Regions from separate parts of the Homo sapiens genome. Here region 2 is linked to region 1. The links are contacts of gene promoters, found by promoter capture Hi-C in human tissues and cell types (Jung and others, 2019). All regions are on one chromosome and are shown on one strand. Each heading gives the region's core, a stretch centred on a gene start or on the middle of the fragment in contact. The rest is flanking DNA. Distances are from core to core; before and after follow the strand shown.

What was found. Contacts are between HindIII fragments. The study calls those that stand out against the background at their distance.
Region 2: a fragment that was not itself captured here is called in contact with the fragment with the promoter of CCDC81 in region 1 in 1 of the 25 tissues and cell types used here (aorta).

Annotation. Positions count from the first base shown.
Region 1 is chr11:86,372,805-86,377,049 of GRCh38, reverse strand. It overlaps CCDC81 (coiled-coil domain containing 81), which reads right to left and starts at 2,163. Exons shown (of 15, transcript NM_001156474.2): 1 at 1,808-2,163. The coding sequence starts at 1,886. All of the region lies in intron 2 of LOC105369421 (a long non-coding RNA gene), which reads left to right. RefSeq lists a silencer at 2,129-2,423. The HindIII fragment of the contact is 17,191 bases long and covers 1-4,245 here.
Region 2 is chr11:86,427,885-86,432,129 of GRCh38, reverse strand. It overlaps the pseudogene PTP4A1P6. Among named protein-coding and RNA genes, the nearest start is that of CCDC81, 55 kb to the right of the region's middle. The HindIII fragment of the contact is 3,825 bases long and covers 202-4,026 here.

The DNA.
Region 1 (4,245 bases), core at 914-3,413:
GGCTTAAACTATATGATTCCAACTATATTACATTCTGGAACTGGCAAAACTATGAAGACCGTGGAAAGATCAGTGGTTTCCAGATTTTGGGATTAGGGGTAGGGGTGAATAGGCAGAACAAAGGGGAGTGAAATACTCTATATGACTATAATGATAGATACATGTCATTTTACATTTGTCCAAACTCATAAAATGTACAACACCAAGAAAGAACTCTAATGTAAACTATGAAACTTGGGTGATTTTGATGTGTCAATGTAGGTTCAATTGTAACACATGTACCACTCCGGTGAGGGATGTTGACAATGGGAGAGTCTATCCAAGTGTAGGATTAGACAGTATGTGGGACATCTCTGTCTGATATGGTTAGGCTTTGTTTCCCCACCCAAATCTCATCTTGAATTGTAATCCCTAGGTGTTGAGGGAGAGGCCTGGTGGGAGGGGATTGGATCCTGGGAGCAGTTTCCCCCATGCTGTTCTCATGATGGTGAGGGATTTCTCACAAGATCTGAGAGTTTTATAAATGGCAGTTTCCCCTGGTCCCCCGGGCTTCTCTCTCTCTCTCTCTCCTGCCGTCATGTAAGACATGCCTGCTTCCCCTTCTGCCATGATTTTAAGTTTCCTGAGGGCTCCCCCAGCCATGAAGAACTGTGAGTCAATTAAACCTCTTTCCTTTATAATGACCCAGTCTGGGATAGTATCTTCATAGCAGTGTACAAATAAACTAATATATTGTCCCTCCTTCTTAATTTACTGTGAATCTACAACTACCCTAAAAAATCATCTTTAAAAAAAGTTCTTACTGTACCATTTACCTCCTCCCTGGTATCATTTACCTAAATTGTAAATTTGCATTGATTTGTGTGATTATTTGATTAATGTGCATCTTCCCCACTAAACAGTAAATTCCAAGATGTTTGTTCACCGTAAGTTAACTAGTGCTCAGCATATAGCAGGGTTTCAGAATTCCTTGAATGACTATACATAAATTTACAAATATAGCAAATGTTTTTAAATTCATTAAGCCATTATCTTCAATGCATCTTTCAGGATGATTTGAGAGGAAAAGATAGGAGTGATGCAGGGGAAGAGAAAGAAGCAGCCATTCCTATTTGTTTTCTGCGGTCATTTGGTTAAAGCCTAAGCAACATCTCTAAGTTACAATGGTTTGATAATAATGAGTTTGCATTCCTGCAGCACCTCTCTTCTCCTGTGGTTTGCAGACAGATCTCAGCCTCACTTTGGGGTGACTCTTCTACAAACGATGCTAAAAACAGATCTTGTCTTGCTACTAACCAAGCCTAATGAGTTTTCTCTGAGAAGGTGCCAGGTCCCCTTCCAAAGTACTTACCCTGTAGCTTTTTATGATCATCTCATTTTCTTAATACAACGGCATGATGTCAAAGGCAACAAAATCAACCGTCTTTGCATGAACTCTCAAAAGGAGCCATTTAGGGTCCCTGCATCTCTTTTCTCTAGGTAGGCAAAAGGGTTGTGATCCATCCCAGCGAGTGGTGTGGGAGTGGCTGTTTTTACCTAACCTTTATTGAGCACTTACTTTGTGCTAGTCCGTTTATTGAGCACTTACTTTGTGCTGTCTACGCATCCCCTGGTTTAATCAAAACCAGAAAAGGGTCTCTGGGCGTCCAACGTGGGCAGGATGTGATTACCAGCTGGTTGTCAAGGCAACTTAGCCACGGCAGGCCAGGCCTGAGCCAGGGAATTGGGAAGTGGGTCCCCCCGCCTCCCCTGCAAGCAGATGAAGATTCAATCCCCAGGGCCACCCCCTGCTACCCAACACGCTTACCCTCCTGGCTCAGCGAGGGCAGAGTGGGCAGCACCTGCCTGCCCAGGTCCTGCAGGGCACGGGCGATCGTATCCAACATCTCCAATTTCCAGGTGACTCCGTACTGAATGTTCGATGGGTCTCTTCTTTCTTATATGGAATGTGCACAAAAATAATTTTCCCACCCTCCAGCCCCTTCTCCACGGAGCTTTGGATGTGCCTTAAAAATAAGAGTGACGAAAATCTTGAACTTCTTGACTCTTTTTCTTCTTTCTTAAATAAACTTAAACATTGGTTCTCGCCGTCCCTCCCCACTGCTCTGGCTCTCGGGCAGCTCCCACAGCAAGAGCCGCAGGAACTGATGTCCGGCACCGAGTGAGAGTGTGCAGACCCGCGCCCTCCTGACCAACGAGAGACCCAATGAGGGGTGAGCTGCAGCCTCGAGGAAGGGAGGGGCACCAGGGAGAATAGGCCCGGCAGAGGGAAGGGCGCGTTGCTGGGACGCGAGAAAGGCTCGCTCGGTTGCTAAGGCGTCAAGGCTGGGATTCGACCTCACCCCCTTAGATGGGCGGCTTCCAGGTTGCCCAGGCGATTCAGAAGCTCGAGGCAGCGAGGTTGGAAGTAACTTAAAAATAAATAAATAATGGGTTTTTACTTCTCTGACCCCGGGCAGCGAAGAAACGTGGTTAGAGTGGTAGTTTTTGTACCTTGGACAAATCTAGGAATGCCTTTTGCCCAGAGAGATCGATATTTGAGTCTCCAGATCTGTTTGAGAGTTTGAGTTTGAGCTGGAATTTGTTTCTTGGTTTGCTTTTCCCTGGGCTCTCTTCCTAGGAAATGGAGAGCTGGAGAAGTGGGGAGGAGGGAATTGACTTTTTTTAAACTACAGTCATTTCCCCCTTTTCTCTACATGTCACCAATCTCATCCTGAAGAATTGCGTGCATGCTCTCCCCTCTGCTGGTAATTATCACAAGCTGAACATACCTATGCAAAACCCATCCAGGTCAAAAAATAGAATGCTAGCACATTGCACAGATCAGCACTTCATTACCCCTCCAGTCATTAGCCAACACATACTGCAGATTCATTTTGCCTGTTGAATCTTTGGAATCATATAGTATGTATCCTTTTCTGTCTGGCTCTATTCAAATTCACATTATGTTTATGAGGTTCATCCATAGTTTCTATGGTAATAATTTCTTCATTTACACTGTTGCATATTATTCCTTTTTATGAGTATGGCACAATTTATGCATTCCACTGTTGAAGGGCATTTGCGTTGTTTCCCTTTGAGGCTACTGGGAATAAGGCTGCTGCAAACAGTCTCACAGAACACTTTTGACAGATAGATGTACTCATTTCTGATGTGTATATAACTAGGAGTAGATTCATGGGTCATGAGAAATGCATATGATCAATTTTAATAGATAATGCCAGCTAATTTTTAGTGGCAATATCAGCATTATTGTTCCACATTAAGATAATGGAATTATAAAAATAATTGTTTTACAATACATTAGATTTTGAATTAAATATAGTGGTACTTTTAATCTCTAGAAAAGCTGTCTTCAGTTCCAGAAGATGGTGGTGGATGCTAATTATTAGTGAATTGTAGATGGCTAAAGGAAGCTGTAAAAAGAATAAGGACAAAGACTTTTCTTCCAAGGTTTTACTTTCCTTTTGTCAAAGGTCTCTTGACAAAAGAGGCTGTGTAGATACATGTAACCCTGTGTTGACTAGAAACTTTTAATGAGCTATAAATATTATATATCCTGAAAATACATACTTTTCAGTTGCTATTAAAACTCAGGCAAACTATGTACTTCCACTGCTACAAATTTGGATATATTTGGATATAAAATTGGATGTATTAGCATGATACATACAAAGATATATGTATATGCAACATTGTTTATAATGTTAATTCTTAGAATTAGCCTAAGATGACCATCATAGGGAACTGGTTAAATTGTGAATACATACATTGGAATACATTTCAAGAGTTTACTTAAAAGGAAACTGCACATTTACGTGCTGATGTTGAAAAAGTTTCAAAATATAGTAAGTGAAAACCAGTAGCAGCATAGTATTTTTATATAATGTAATCCTGTTTCCTTCAAATATAAGTATATAAGTATGCATACGTATTCATATATATTTTTGTAAACATATGGGATATTTGAGGAAAGATACATACACAAAAATATTAACAGTGGAATTTTGGATCAGGCAAAATTTTGTATGGTGGAGGAGGCATTCCAAGAACTTTTATATTCACTTTTCTCCTTTATTTACTGTTTAACAAGGGCATGAATTACTTTATAATATTTAAGATAATTTACCAAAGAGAGGAAGAGAGAGAGGTACAGGTAGAGTGTAGGGATTTATGCAAACACTGAAGGAAACAAACAGGGCCAAAATGTTCCCAAGTATTTCAATGTACATTTACTTTTCTGCA
Region 2 (4,245 bases), core at 865-3,364, 55 kb before region 1:
CCACTGGAGCTGGGTGATTCATTGGAGCCATGTTAATTTAGTTAAAAAAAAAAAAAACTGATATGGTTACGAAAAAAATTAAAAATTTTTGAATACAGAAATGATGTCAAGAAACTGAAGTCTACGCCAATATACTCCACTTGAAATTCACAGAGCTTTGAATATGAAGTTGGTAGTGACAGGAAATGAAATGAACCTACCAACAAGAAGCTGCGGTTCTTCAATTCAGTAATTCTGGGCCAATGGAAAGGAAGTGCACCAAGGGTTACCCCATCTAGGTCAGAACTCTTGTAAAATGCTCTAATGATCTCAATTCTACACTTCTGTGTCCAGGTGACCCGCTCTGTGGGGGCTTCTTGGTGGGGCAGTAATGACTTTCCACCATTCACTTGTCCTCATAAAGTTCGTGCTGAACCTGGCAGTAATCTCCAGGGCCCTTTAGAAACTCTATAAATGCATTATCAAGAACACCACAGAAAGGAATATGTTTACTCACGAACGATGGTGGCCTAACCATACAGCTGGGCCCGCGGCGGCCGCAGCACTGCCCGGAGCAGCCGCAGCCGCAGTCGTGGCGGGGCAGCGGCGGCAGGGCACCAAACTCTAGGAGGACCAGCGGAGCGCCTCCACTGAGGCAATACGCACACGCGCAGGTGTCGTTGCGTCCCAAGTCGTCTCTTTCCTAGACTGCGCGCGACGCAGGAACCCCTTCACCAATCGTGGTTGGGCGGACCAATGAGGACGTCATCACGGCCGCCGCCGACGGGAGCCCCTTGCTGAGGCGAAGGAACGCTGGATGAATGCTGAGTTTCCTTGTCTCCCACTAGAGAGGAGAGGGGCTGAGGAGCGACGTGGGGGTGGTGGGATAGGAAGCCTGGAAGAGGCTGGAGAGAAACTGAAGGAAGACAGGTAAGGTAGCGAAAGGTTTCCCAGCCATTGACTCTGACTAGTGTATCTTTTTCTACCTGCTTCATGTTTAAGTATGTCTCTTGGGAACAACATAATATATGGAGCTTTTTTTCCGCATCAGTCCAGTCTGACAGACTTTTTTAGCTGAAAAAGTGCACGTATGCATTTTTGCCCTCTTATTTTATGCTATTTGACCCATATTTCTATATTTTTTACCTTTTCTTGACCTCTTTTGGATTACGATTTTCCCTCTACTCTTTTGGAAGTTTTCATTGGGGCTAATACTTCCTTAGCACTTATTTTAGGGTAAGCACTGTTCAAAGCTTTATATAAATGTAATACAAAACCCCTATGAATTAGATACTAGTGTCATTTCTACTGTCCTGACTTTAAAAACCTAAGCACAGAACGGTAATTTGCCCAAGGTCACACAGCTAGTAAATGGCAGAGATGAGACTTTTTTAAAAAATAATTTTAACTTTTATTATAGATTTAGGGGGTTCACGTGCACATTTGTTACATGGGTATATTGCGTGACCCAGAGTATGAATGATAATTCTGTCACTCAGATAGTGAGCATAGTACCCAAGAGGTAATTTTGCAAGGGCTAAGATTTGAATCCCGCGATTTTGGCTGTGGAGTCTCCCTCTCTAATACAGATGGTCTATTATATACCCTGTTTCTGTTCTTTTAGTGCTTAACTAACTTAGAAAAAGTCAAACATGGTTCAGAATCTTTTCCTGCCTCTTGAAGGAATTCAGCATGCTTTAACTATTAATGTCGTCAAGCATCTTAATCTTTTAACGCCACAAATTGGACATTATTGTTTGTACAAATCAATGTTTGTTTACATTTATTCATGTTATCAGTTTCTTTGCTCACTATTCCTTCTTGGAGCTCCATTCTTTCTGAGGTTACTTTCTTTTATCCAGAAGCATTTTTTTGGAGATTCCTTTGGGTATCGATACGTTGATAAATGTTTTATATATGCTAGAAAATCTCTCACTGTTGAATCCATTTCCCTTAATATTAGTAAACTGTATTTTGTTTTTTTCTTCAGGTTTCTTTTTTGGCTTTTTTCTAAAATTCTTTTATTTTCCCTTCATTGTTAAAAGTTTTGCTGGGTACACAATTCTTCACTGACATTTTCTCTCAGCCCTTTGAAGGAAAGAAGAAATAGGGCTTTATTGCAAGGGGCCATGTGAAGGTCAGGAAGCAAAGTCTAGACATTTTAGAAAATTGTAACAGCTGTTAGAGAAGAAACCTGAGAATAAGAATATCTTCAGAGGACTGAGACAAAATGTCAGTATAGAATTGTGTACTCAGAAAAACTATGTAAAAATGAAGGCAAAGTAACAGAATTTTAGGGAAAAAAACAAAAAAGAAAAGTGAAAGGGAATTTTCAAAAGCAAATTAAATCCTTTACTTTTGATAGCCTAAGCCTGTAAAAATGGTGAAGGAAAGCTATCTAGAACAGGGATTCTTGGCCTGTGGTCCAGGGGTTCTAGGAAACTTCTAACTGCATGCAAAATGTTGTATAGGAATATATACCTGTTTTTAGAAGAAGAGTATATATTTTTCATCAGATTCTTAGAAGAGTCCATGACTGTCCAAAACATTGAAAACCACTGAAATAGGGAAACCTTTGATACATTAATCTGGTCTGGCTGTGCTGTATTTCTGGAAAAGACAGAACTTGATGATAGCAAGTCGGGGCTAATTACAGAGTTAGACTAATACAAGAATAATAGTTAACAATGAGGATCATTGAAGAAGATCCAAATTATGAAGACTTGCTCAGAAATCAGCTGTTTAGTGAAGGACTATAATAAAGTTTGATTCTTAAAATGGTTGAATGATAGAAAACATATTAGACCTCATATCTATATAATTCATATAACCATGCCTCCATCTCAGTCTTGATAGACTGGAGCACACAGCCTTGACATCTGTTGTCATGACCCCTTCTTCTCTTCACCTGGCTTTTTCCCGTTGGTCATTAAAATTCAGCTTGGGCTTCATCTCCTCAAAAAGCTTTCCCTCTCTGTGCCATGGTAAACTTACCAGAAGGAATCTACCTTGTTCTTCTAACAACCAATGCACAATAATATTAGGTTTTTACCTTGTTATACAGGGGTTTTCTAGCTTTTACCTTGTTAAACCAGAGGTTTCACAATGGTATGAAACTGGAAATCATTAACAGGAGGAATTTTGGAAGATTCACAAATACATGGAAATTAAATATGCTCATGAACAATCAGCGTGCCAGTGAAGAAATTAAAAGGGAAATCTAGAAGTATCTTGAGACAAAAAAAAAGGAACACACAACATACCAAACTTTATGGAATGCAGCAAAAGCAGTTCTAAGAGGAAAGTTTATAGCAATAAATGCCTGCACCAAGAAAGAAAATTACAAATAACTAAAAGTTACACCTCTAGGAAATTTCTTTAAAACCCTAAGCCCAAGTTAGTTGAAGGAAAGAGATAATAAAGATCAGACCAGAAATAATCTAATCTCTATTTTATTTCTGCTCTGGAGATTAAAAAAAAATACAAAAGAAACTAAAAGTTCATATTTTGAAAAGATAAAATCAAACAGCCTTTAGCTAGACTAACCAAGAAAAGAAAAAGAGAAAAGACCCAAGTAAAATCAGAAATAAAGAAATCATTACAGTTGACAACACAGAAGTACAATGGATCATGAGAGACTATTATGAACAATTATATGCCAAAAACTTGAATTACCTAGAAGAAATGGATATATTCCTACACACATACAACCTGCCAAGACTGAATCATGAAGAAATAGAAAATCTGAGCAAACCAATAATGAGTGAGGAAATTGAATCATTAATACAAAGTATCTCACCAAAGAAAAGCCCAGGAACAGATGGCTTCACTGCTGAATTCTACCAAACATTTAAAGAAGAACTAATATCAGTTCTCTACAAACTGTCTCAGAAAAAAACAAACAAACAAAAAAACGAATGGGAGAGAATACTTTCAAATTCTTTTCAGGACCAGTATTACCCTAATACCAAAGCCACACAAGCACATCACAAGAAATGAAAACTACAAGCCAATATCCTTGATGAGCATAGATGCAAAAATCCTCAACAAAATACTAGCAAACCAAATCCAACAACACATTAATAGGATTATTCACCATCATCAAGTGGGATTTATCCCTGGGTTGCAAGAATGGTTGATTATTCTCAAATCAATAAATGTGATATATCACATGAACAGAATGAAGGACAAAAATCATATGACCATCTCATTAAATGCAGAAAAAGCATTTGACAAAACATCCTTTCATGATAAAAACACTCAACA